Regions from separate parts of the Homo sapiens genome. Here regions 1 and 3 are each linked to region 2. The links are contacts of gene promoters, found by promoter capture Hi-C in human tissues and cell types (Jung and others, 2019). All regions are on one chromosome and are shown on one strand. Each heading gives the region's core, a stretch centred on a gene start or on the middle of the fragment in contact. The rest is flanking DNA. Distances are from core to core; before and after follow the strand shown. Region 1 has its middle 12 kb from the start of OR1J1. Region 2 holds the start of OR1N1 (olfactory receptor family 1 subfamily N member 1). Region 3 has its middle 8.9 kb from the start of OR1N2.

The links. Contacts are between HindIII fragments. The study calls those that stand out against the background at their distance.
Region 1: a contact is called between a fragment that was not itself captured here and the fragment with the promoter of OR1N1 in region 2, in 4 of the 25 tissues and cell types used here (H1 embryonic stem cells, mesenchymal stem cells, neural progenitor cells and 1 more).
Region 3: a contact is called between a fragment that was not itself captured here and the fragment with the promoter of OR1N1 in region 2, in 5 of the 25 tissues and cell types used here (heart right ventricle, mesendoderm cells, neural progenitor cells and 2 more).

Annotation. Positions count from the first base shown.
Region 1 is chr9:122,487,618-122,491,695 of GRCh38, reverse strand. It overlaps a transcript of OR1J2 not described here. Among named protein-coding and RNA genes, the nearest start is that of OR1J1, 12 kb to the right of the region's middle. The HindIII fragment of the contact is 4,254 bases long and covers 1-3,377 here.
Region 2 is chr9:122,524,869-122,528,797 of GRCh38, reverse strand. OR1N1 (olfactory receptor family 1 subfamily N member 1) reads left to right here and starts at 1,505. Exons shown (of 1, transcript NM_012363.1): 1 at 1,505-2,440. The coding sequence starts at 1,505. The coding sequence ends at 2,440. It also overlaps a transcript of OR1J2 not described here. The HindIII fragment of the contact is 9,333 bases long and covers 1-3,929 here.
Region 3 is chr9:122,560,122-122,563,898 of GRCh38, reverse strand. It overlaps a transcript of OR1J2 not described here and a transcript of OR1L8 not described here. Among named protein-coding and RNA genes, the nearest start is that of OR1N2, 8.9 kb to the right of the region's middle. The HindIII fragment of the contact is 4,575 bases long and covers 1-3,777 here.

The DNA of each region.
Region 1 (4,078 bases), core at 1-2,500, 37 kb after region 2:
CCATTCCCACCTTTTATTTGCATTGCTCCTAGTCATGTCACCGAAATCCTCATTATTACTAAATCCAATGAATGGTTTCAGCACTTAACCTTGGCTCTACATTTTTATATTCTCCTTCTCCATCTCTGGTTGTTATTTGATGTCTTTTGGGGGCTTTATTTCTCTGCTACTATCTTAATTGTCAATGTTCCCTGTGGTCTGTCCTCAGCAACTATTCCCTTCCCTTTCCTTGCTTTTCTCCCTTCTCCTTTCCTCTTCTCTCCTCCCTTTCTCTCCCCTCCTTCTTCTTTTTCCTCAGCTTTTACTAACCTCATTTGTTTTCAGGCAATCTCATCCTCCTCTATGTTGACAGTCCATGAATTTCTATCTCTATCCAAAATATATCCACCTGCCTACTAAATTTGTCTCATGGATGACCTATAGGTACCTCATACTCTATGCAATACAACTTCTCAAATCTTTTTCTTCTATATTGCCTTCAGTGAATAGCACAACCATACACTCAGCTGTCCAAGCCATAAATTTAGAGAGGTTTTCAACTCCTTTGTTCTCCTTATTTTCTACATTCTTATCAAAATCAACTCACATCAAAATTACTATATCCATTAGATTCTGACTACGGAGACTTAAATCAATATAGTTCTAACATCATGGTCACTCTCTTATACACACTTTCATAATCTCTTACCTAAATGACTGTCATCTTCTCCTAATGAGTCTCTTTGCTTCTGGTCTTGCATTCCACTACCCCATGCCTGCTCTGCCAACATGTCCTCTGCCCACTGCAAACACATGCTCATTATCCACTCCTGAACTATACCAACTGTGTTTAGTATGATTGTCAATCTGCTGATCAAGTCCTTCCATGGCTCTTTCTTTCCTTTTGAGTAATATGCAAATTCTTCAATATGGCTTCTAAGGTCCTGCATGATTTATTCCTTCTAGTTTCTCTGGACTCATCCTGAACCTCTTCCCCTGTTCAAGTGTACATTTTAGCCACTCTAATTTTTCTGACAATTGTTTCCTAAATTTGCCATCCTTTCTCTTCTGTAGGTCTTTTCCTATTCCTCTGTTTCTCTCCCTTTCACTGCTCTGCCTCTATGTTGTTGACATCACCTTCTACTTGTTTTGATTTTCTTGAGTTTCTGCTTACTTGTAACTTTCTACAAGCCTACTTGCTGTTCTGTGTGGGAAACGCATGAGGGGAGAAGAAAAGACACACACAAAATACCTTTAAGGGTAAACAAGCTTTATCCCACGTAAATGGCAATGCAGATATAACAAGCCAATGATATAATAAGCAAATTGATATAATAAGCAAGTTGCAATGGGAAGGGGATAAAGGAAAAGAGATATATATATATTTACACTCACCACCCCACATTGGATGGGGAGATGCATTTGGGGATGGCCATTAATTCCATTCACCATCTGGGATAATATTCCCTCCCCAGTAATCTAGATGCTTACAAACATCACTGGTTATGAATGTGCCAGACTCCCTGATGATGGTACCCTATCACAGTATTCTCCCCTGCCACCAGTACAATCCTGCTTCAGCAACAAATTAAAATATTAAGCTTACATGTAGAAAAAGCTCTTAATGATAGTAGCACTGGACTTATGTTATCAGATGAATTTGCTCAGCCGTGCACTGTTGTGTTGCAAAATCGAGAGGCATTAGATATGCTTACCACAGCCCAAGGAGGGGTTTGTGCCTTACTGCATACTAAATGTTATGTGTCTATCCCTGACAATTCTCACAATATTACTCTCCTTGCAAAGCTATCGTAGGTGTGGTTTTTATTAATTGCGTTTTTAATTCTCCTGTGCTTACCATGTATCTGTAATCTATCAACTGTGCCTTCCCCATGTATCTGTAAGGGTATTTTCCTACAACTGAGTATCAAATTGAGGCCCAATGTGGAGAAAAAGTTAAATATTAAATTTGAACTCAATTGAACGTGGACACAAACAATGGTCACCAAGTCCGGGAACAGGTTGTGTGAGCCCCTTGAGGCATTCATCCAGCACTGTTTCGGAGAAATCTCTATTTCAATCTATTCCTATACATTGGTTATTGAAAAACAATAGATAATTGCAAAAACAAGTTGATCTTTTTGTGTTCCTTGAGCCCAGTCGCAAAGGGCCCTCGTCACTGGGCCTCATGCAAAACAACTTCTTACAAAAAGAGCTAGGGTCCCAGACCCTAGCACCGAAGCTTCATGAAACCTCTCCTTGTCTGTGCACGGACAAGTGGCCGACTCTGGAGCCCAGGCTGTTTCTTCCCAGTCTGGTGGTGAATCCTCCACAGTCTGGTGAGTTTTGTATCTGACTCTGGAACCCAGGCTGTTGCTTTCCAGTCTGGTGGTGAATCCTCCGTAGTCTGGCGAGTGTAAATATATATATATATATTTATATATGGAATAAAGGAATGGTGTGTGTGTCTTTTCTTCTCCCCTCATAAGTTTCCCACACAGAACACTTGCTTGATGCCTTTAATTTGGGTTTGATGCCCCCCTTTGTGTTCCCACAGCACTCGGCTCTTACCTTCATTACAGTGTCTGATGTGGACGGTTTTGTCGATCTCATTCAATGGATTGGGAACTCTTTGGGGACAGAAAATTGTGTTTTCCCATGGACACAGAGATGGGAACATCACACACCAGGGCCTGTCAATGGGTGGGGGGGTTAGGGGAGGGATAGCATTAAGAGAAATACCTAATGTAGACGATGGGTAATGGGTGCAGCAAACCACCATGACATGTGTATACCTATATAACAAACCTGCACATTCTGCACATGTACCCCAGAACTTAGAGTATAATAAATTTTAAAAAAAGAAACTTGTGTTTTCTTTACTTACAGTGCCTCACAAAATTCTTGCCACATCATATTTATACAATATTCTTCTGAATGAGTAAATGAATGCACAAATTATTCAAAGAAATAATGAAAAAAGCAATCTCCTCCACTTAATTCTCCGTCTCTTTTATATTTTTGCCAACCTGAATGTAGCAGGTTTCTGAAGATTCTCACACTCATTTTTATGGTCAAAGAATACTTTTTGAGCCCTGAGTCTGTTCCAACTATTATTATGTGTCATCACTAACCAAAAATAAATCCTGCATGTATTCAGGTGTTTCCCATGAGGAAAATAAATCTCTAGTCCTTGAAAAGTGTTCTTAATCCTCAGGGACTAGTAACACCTCTCCTTCCAGTTCCAAATTGAATGTGGGAAGGAGGAAGTCTGTATAGGCCAGGAGCGGTGGCTCACGCCTATAATCCAGGCACTCTGGGAGGCTGAGGCGGGCAGATCACCTGAGCTCAGGAGTTTGAGACCACCCTGGGCAACATGGCAAAACCCCATTTCTACTAAAAATACAAAAAATTAGCTGGACGTGGTGGCACACACCTGTAATTCCAGTTACTTGGGAGGCTGAGGCATGAGAATCACTTGAACCCAGGAGGCAGAGGTTGCAGTGAGCTGAGATCATGCCACTGCACTCCAGCCTGGGCAACAGAACTGTCTCAAAACAAAAATAAAACAAAAACAAAACAAACAAACAAAAAACCCAAAAGAATTATTTAAAATATAGAGCTCACTAATATAAGGGAGGCAACATGGAAGAAAGCCTAGAATGAAACCAGGCTTTAGGTTTGAAGTTAATGTGTTTATGTTTGAATACTCATTTAACCATTTACTTTTGAGACATTGTCAAACTCAATAAATGGGAAAAATACTATCTACATCAAATATTATTGTGATGCTTAAAAAATCTTATAGATGTGAAAGTTCTTTATAAATAAAAAAAATCTGTACATAATAAAAGTTCTTATTTATATTCCCATAGGAGTTGACTGTCCTTGGTGTCCGGCAAAGGCACATTTCAACTGGGAATATTAAGGGAAATACAGTAATTAGCCCCTAACTGTGTCTCACCACAGACTTCTGGCACCAGTCCCCTGGGTTCCCATCCAGGCAGGTAAAGGGAGATACTCTTGCTGTAGCCTTGTGGCTGGTGAAAAACAAAGAATGTGCCTCTTCTCCACTTCAGGGTTGAGCTCATGACTTTTC
Region 2 (3,929 bases), core at 256-2,755:
GAACTTTAGCTTATTTATCTGAATCAAAGGGAGGAGTTGGACTAAGCAAAATTTTCTTAATCCTCACTGAGCATCAAAATACCTGAGAAGCCTTCAGTTTTAGTTTTTAAATACAGGTACCTAAATTGTATCCTAGAAATTTAAATTTGACAGGTCTGAGGTAGGGATTATTATTTTTATCTTTATTTATTTATTTATTTTAGACGGAGTCTTGCTCTATTGCCCAGGCTGGAGTGCAATGGCATGATCTCGGCTCACTGCAACCTCCAACTCCCAGGCTCAAGTGCTTCTCCGGCCTCAGCCTACCAAGTAGCTGGGATTACAGGCACATGCCACCACACCCGGCTAATTTTTGTATTTTTAATAGAGATGGGGTTTTGTCATGTTGGTCAGGCTGGTCTTGAACTACTGACCTCAGGTAGATCCGCCTGCCTCGGTCTCCCAAAGTGCTGGGATTACAGGCATGAGCCACTGTGCCCAGCCGGGATCAGGATTTTAAATAAGCATCTCACTTGATTATGATAAACTGGTCTACAGACCAATGCTTGAGACCTCTGGGCCAGGTGATCTTTCAGGTTCTATCTAGTTCTTAAATTTCGTTGTTCTTCTGTAAAACACACATATAAAAGATAGTAAAGGCAAGTGAGACTAAATACGTTAAACTAAGAATACTGAGGGATTAAATATAAATGTGGTCCTAGAAAGTTACTTTCTATCTATATTGACTGATGGTACAGTCTCTGGAAACCATTGCTGTGGGTTTGAATTCTGTCTCAAATATTTATGAGCTCTGGGTCCTTGTACAATTTACTTAAACATCCTTAGACTCAGTTTTCTTATATAAGGGTAAGAATAACAATCTCTGCATCCTAGTGTTGTTTAAGGATTAAAGGAAACAATCTTCATAAAGTACTTAGTAGAGTACCTGTCATATATGTGGCTAACATGTAATATGCGTTAGCTACAGGATGATGATGATGCCAATGACAAAAACTCAAATGCAGGGAGAAATGCAGGACTTCGTATTTTCTTTTTCAAAAGAAATAATGAAAAAATAAAGAGGCATGAGTCCTTCATATGCCCTTCACTCTAAAATGAATGAGGATGTGTCAAAATTAAGAATTTTGTGTGGGTTTTTTGGCTACCTCCCAAAAGAATGTAAAATTTAGCTGACCTCAGTCTACTCACATAGACAGCCTACTGCAAAAATGAAACTAACATGAGGCTATAGACTAGTCTAAGGCATGGTCATGCCAAGGGAGAATATGCCCTGACCTTATTGGAAGGGGACTCTATGTGTAAAAGATTAAATAGTGGTAAAGAGAGGAGAAAGGGGGAAAATGAGACTCTGATGAAGAGAGAAAAGAAGCAGGATCAGAATGAAGATAAAGTCAGGATTAGGAATATAATGAACTTAAAGGGAGATTTGGGAGTCAGCCCACACAGTTGTAGATGAAATCTAGCATTCTAACTGTCTTCCCTCAGCTCCAGATGCTGCAGAGTCATGGAAAACCAATCCAGCATTTCTGAATTTTTCCTCCGAGGAATATCAGCGCCTCCAGAGCAACAGCAGTCCCTCTTCGGAATTTTCCTGTGTATGTATCTTGTCACCTTGACTGGGAACCTGCTCATCATCCTGGCCATTGGCTCTGACCTGCACCTCCACACCCCCATGTACTTTTTCTTGGCCAACCTGTCTTTTGTTGACATGGGTTTAACGTCCTCCACAGTTACCAAGATGCTGGTGAATATACAGACTCGGCATCACACCATCTCCTATACGGGTTGCCTCACGCAAATGTATTTCTTTCTGATGTTTGGTGATCTAGACAGCTTCTTCCTGGCTGCCATGGCGTATGACCGCTATGTGGCCATTTGCCACCCCCTCTGCTACTCCACAGTCATGAGGCCCCAAGTCTGTGCCCTAATGCTTGCATTGTGCTGGGTCCTCACCAATATCGTTGCCCTGACTCACACGTTCCTCATGGCTCGGTTGTCCTTCTGTGTGACTGGGGAAATTGCTCACTTTTTCTGTGACATCACTCCTGTCCTGAAGCTGTCATGTTCTGACACCCACATCAACGAGATGATGGTTTTTGTCTTGGGAGGCACCGTACTCATCGTCCCCTTTTTATGCATTGTCACCTCCTACATCCACATTGTGCCAGCTATCCTGAGGGTCCGAACCCGTGGTGGGGTGGGCAAGGCCTTTTCCACCTGCAGTTCCCACCTCTGCGTTGTTTGTGTGTTCTATGGGACCCTCTTCAGTGCCTACCTGTGTCCTCCCTCCATTGCCTCTGAAGAGAAGGACATTGCAGCAGCTGCAATGTACACCATAGTGACTCCCATGTTGAACCCCTTTATCTATAGCCTAAGGAACAAGGACATGAAGGGGGCCCTAAAGAGGCTCTTCAGTCACAGGAGTATTGTTTCCTCTTAGATGTGGTGACAGCAACATTTAATGAAAAGACATAGGCTTGGAGTCAGACAAACGGGCTTCATTTTGGGGTCTACCACACACTAGCCATAAGATTGTAGTCTGGTTACTTAGCCTCTCTGAGCCTTGGTTTTCTCATTTATAAAATGGAGATAACAGTTTCTATCTAATAATGTAACTTGGAGGATTAACTGAAATAAACTATGAAATGCATTCAGTATAGTAGTGAATAACAGTAGGTGTTCAATAAGGGATAGCTATTATTATTACTATTAGTATTCTTCATTCCTCCCCCAACTCAGAAGTCAAAAAATCTTTTCTCTGAGATATATTTGTTCAATAAATATTTACTATCTATGGTGTGTTGGAAGTTATTGTAAGTGCTAGGGTTATGACACTGAGCAAGACAAAGTCCCTGCTTTCATGACACTTTCATTCTAGGTTATTAATTTGTCGATCATTAAAATTTTGGGGGCACTTGTTTTGTTTGTGGCATTAAGTGGGGAGTAAGACAAAAGAAATAAAGATGGAGGCTGCATTCCATGTGCTGCAGAATAGCTAAAGAGATCCCCATCAAAAGGTTCAAATTCAATGTTTAGGTTTCCATGCGGGTTGCCCACCCCACGGTTGGCTAATGTTTCACTAGGAAGGGGGTTAAAGCTCCTTGTGCTACCTCTGCCCCATGCTGGTCAGAAACGTGCAATGCCACCATCCTTTTAGTGACTATTAGATGAGAGGAACGTGGAAATCCTCTCTCCTTATTTGACTGCAGGTTTGCGTCCACATCTAAAAGGGGCACCAGCAGCTTAAATTAGTTGCAGAGATGGAAAAAATGATGTTTGAAGGTAAATGGCATTCTATCTGTCTCCAAGAATCTTAGAAATATTAAAAATATTATTTTAAATATAAGGGCTATATAGTTTTGATTTCTTACATCTGGTATCACCAGGTGTCCACTGGCTACCTAAACTCCTTCCTCATTTAAGTTTGTTTCTCAGACCTAACCTATTCTAAAATGTTTTATGATTGCTGCACTTTTTCAATGAATACTTATGGAGCATCTTTCATGGAATCAAACTGTTCCAGGCTTCAGCTATTAGTAAGTACAAATGTGAATCATTTAGATGCCACATCTTAGTACGCGAGGATTCCATTTATTTCATGACCTGGAACTGGAAGTCTGTTCTTCTCTCTAGAACTCCTTTCCAGATGTTCCCTCAGAGAGTCCTTGAATGGGATGAGCAGGGCATCGTCATGTAACCAGAGCTGGAGATGGTTGCAAACTTGGAGTTCTCCTGCCCTCATCTCCTTAGTCTACAACTCTCCTTCCATTCTGTTGACATCTATCGCTCCACTGACCAAAGACCACTGACAGTCTCCTCCAAGCCATTGACCTCTAGCTTTCTTCTATCATTTGAACTGGCAATGGACTATCCTCCACTTCTCATGATCAGCTCTTTCAGAAGAGGGTCTCCTAGGAGAGCTCTAAGGC
Region 3 (3,777 bases), core at 926-3,425, 34 kb before region 2:
AGGTGTGAAGAATACACATTGGGAAAAGCACAGTTTCTTCAATATATGATGTTATAAAAACTGAATATGTGTATGCAAAAGAATAACTAGATCTCTATCTCTTACCACATACAAAACTCTGCTCAAAAGAAATTAACAACTTGACTGTAAGACCTGAAACTATGAAAATACTAGACAAAGCCATAGGGGAAATGCTTTATGACATTGATCTGGCTAAAGATTAATTGGATAAGACCTTAAAAGCATAGACAACAAAAGCAAAAATAGACAAATGGATTTACATAAAACTAAATTGCATCTGCGCAGCAGAGGAAACAATCAACAGAGCAAAGAGACAACCTACAGGATGGGAGAAAATATTTGCAAACTATGCATCTGTCAAGAGGTTAATATGTGGAATATATAAGAAACTCAAATGTCTCGATAACAACAAAAAAACAAATAAATGATTTTAAAAATGGAGAAAAGACCTAAATAGATATTTCTTAAAAGAAGACATCTATATGGTCAACAAGCTTATGGAAAAATGCTCAGTATCACTAATCATTAGGGAAATGCAAATCAAAATCACAATGAAATATACAATAAATTATTGTTAACTATACTATGATGTATCCATAAAATTTAAAAATAAAAACAAACTTTTTAAAAACACAATGAGATATCACCTCATCCCAGTTAGAATGGCTATTATCAAAGAGACAAAAAAAAAAATAACAAATGCTAGTGAGGATGTGGAGAAAGGGGAGCACTTATACACTGTTGGTGAGAATATAAATTAGTACATCCATTATGGTCAACAGTGTCAAGATTCCTCAAAAAATTAAAATATATCTACCATATGATCCAGTAGTCCCACTACTGGTTATATATCCAAAGGAAAAGAAATAAGTACGTCAAAGAGTCATCTGCACCCTCAAGTTTATTACAGCACTATTTACAACAGCCAAGATATGGAATCAACCAAAATGTCCATCAGTGGATACACGGATTTTTTTAAGTGCTATATGTGCACAATGGAACACCATGCAGCCATAAAACGAATAAAATCATTTTTATTCTTTTGTGGCAGCATGGATGAACCTAGTCGACATTATGTTAAATAAAATAAGCTAGGCACAGAAGGACCAATACCCATATTCTCACTTATTTGTGGGATTTTTAAAAAGTTGAATTCAGAAAACAACCAAAACAGCATGCGAACCCTGCAACGGCAACCAAGGTATCCAGGTGCTGTCACCAGGACTGACTAGGCAGTTGGTATGACACACGGAGAGGAAGGAAGTGCAGTGTGGTGTGGCAGCCCACCTGAGAGCCACACAGGGCAGGGGAGTCCCCACCCACCAGCCAAGGGAGGTGGTGAGTGAGCGTGCTACCCAGCCTGGGAAACCATGCTTTTTCCACAGAACTGTGCAACCCACAGATCAGAAGATCCCACTTGAGAGCCCCTGCCACCAGGGCCTAGGGTCCCAACAACAGAGCTACGCAGATTCTCAATAGCCACTCAGCTAGAATCTGCTTAAGCCTGCTGACTTCCTGGGAGGAGTTGCAGCCATCACCACAGCTGCAACTGCCTGCTGCCTAAGCTGTCTAAGCTCCCTGCGGGAGGGGCAGCAGCCAACACTGGGACTGCTAGCTGCCTAACACACTAAGCTCCCATGGCGGGGGAAGGGCGGCAGCCATCTCTATAGCTCCAGGTCACTATTTTCCCCTGCCGAGCCAGGGAGACTTGGTGGCAAGAAATATTCCCCACAGCCAAACACACCGGCTGTGGCAGACTGCAGCCAGAGTGCCTCTTCAGGCAAGACCCTGACCCATCCCTCCTCACTGGGAGGGCCTCCCTGCAGGAACTCCAACAACTCCCGCCAGGGGCTCAAGGACAGAACTCTCATCTCCCTGGGCCTGAGCCCCTAGTAGAAGGGGTGGCCATAGTCTCCACGGACCAGCAGACTTAGTTTTTCCTACTGCTAGTTCTGAGGAATCTGGGCAGCCCAGATGAGTAAGTTTCCCTCCAGCACAGCATACCCCCTCCACCAAGGGACAGCCAAAGTGCTTCATTAAATGGGTCCTGCTCCCAGTGCCACCAACTGGGTGAGACCCTGCAACAGGGGTTGTCAGACATTTTATACAGAAGCATTCCTGCTGGCATTAGGTCGGTGCCCCTCAAGGTCAGCGATACCAATGGAAGGAGCAGGCACCCATCTTTACTGTTCTCCAGCTTCCCCCAGTGACATCTCCAGGTGCAGGAGTGAACCAGATGAATAAGGCCTGAAATGAACCCCCAGCAAACCACAGCAGCCCTACAGAAGAGGGACCTGACCACTGAAAGAAAAACAAACAGAAAACAACAACAGCATGAACAAAAAACGTCCCCACAAAAACCTCATCCAAGGGTCAGCAGCCTCAAAGATGGAAACTAGACAAACTCATGAAGATGAGAAAGAATCAACGAAAAAACGCTGAAAATCCAAAAGGCCAGAGTGCCTTTTCTCCTCCAAATGATCACAACACCTCTCCAGCAAGGGCGTGAACTGGATGGAGGATGAAATAGATGAACTGACAGAGGCAGGCTTCAGAAGGTGGGTAATAACAAACTCTGCTGAGCTAAAGGGGCATGTTCTAACCCAATGCAAAGAAGCTAAGGACCTTGATAAAGGCTTACATGAGCTGCTAACTAGAACAATCAGGAACATAAATGATGGAATGGAACATAAATGATGTGATGGAGCTGAAAAACACAGCACAAGAACTTCATGAAGCATACGCAAGTATCAATAGCTAAATCGATCAAACAGAAGAAAGAATATCAGAGTTTGAAGACCATCATGCTGAAATAAGGCAGGCAGACAAGATTAAAGGAAAAAGAATGAAAAGGGATGAGCAAAACCTCTGAGAAATATGGGACTATGTAAAAAGGCAGAACCTATGATTGATTGGAGTACCTGAAAGAGATGGGAAGAATGGAACCAAGATGGAAAACACACTTCAGGATATTATCTAGGAGAATTCCCCAACCTAGCAAGACAGACCAACATTCAAATTCAGGAAATACAGAGAACTCCACTAAGATACTCCATGAGAAGATCAACCCCAAGACACATAATCATCAAATTCTCCAAGGTCGAAATGAAGGAAAAAATGTTAAGGGCAGCCAGACAGAAAGGCTTGGTCACCTACAAAGGGAAACCCATCAGACTAAGAGAGGATCTCTCAGCAGAAACCCTACATGCCAGAAGAGAGTGGGGGTCAATATTCAACATTCTTAAAGAGAAGAATTTTCAACGCAGAATTTCATATCCAGCCAAACTAAGCTTCATAAGTAAATGAGAAATAAAATCCTTTCCAGACAAACAAATGCTGAGGGATTTTGTCACCACCAGGCCTGCCTTGCAAGAGCTCCTGAAGGAAGCACTAAATATGGAAAGGAAACACCGGTACCAGCCACTGCAAAAACACCAAAATATAAAGACCAACGATACTATGAAGAAATTGCATCAATTAGTGTGCAAAATAACCAGCTAGCATCATGATGACAGGATCAAATTCACACATAGCAATATTAACCTTAAATGTAAACGGGCTAAATGCTGCGATTAAAAGACACAGACTGGCAAACTGGATAAAGAGTCAAGACCTATTGGTGTGCTATATTCAGGAGATCCATCTCACGTGCAAAGAAACAAATAGGCTCAAAATAAAAGGACAGGAGAAAATTTACCAAGCAAATGGAAAGCAAAAAAAAAGAGGGGTTGTGATCCTAGTCTCTGACAAAACAGA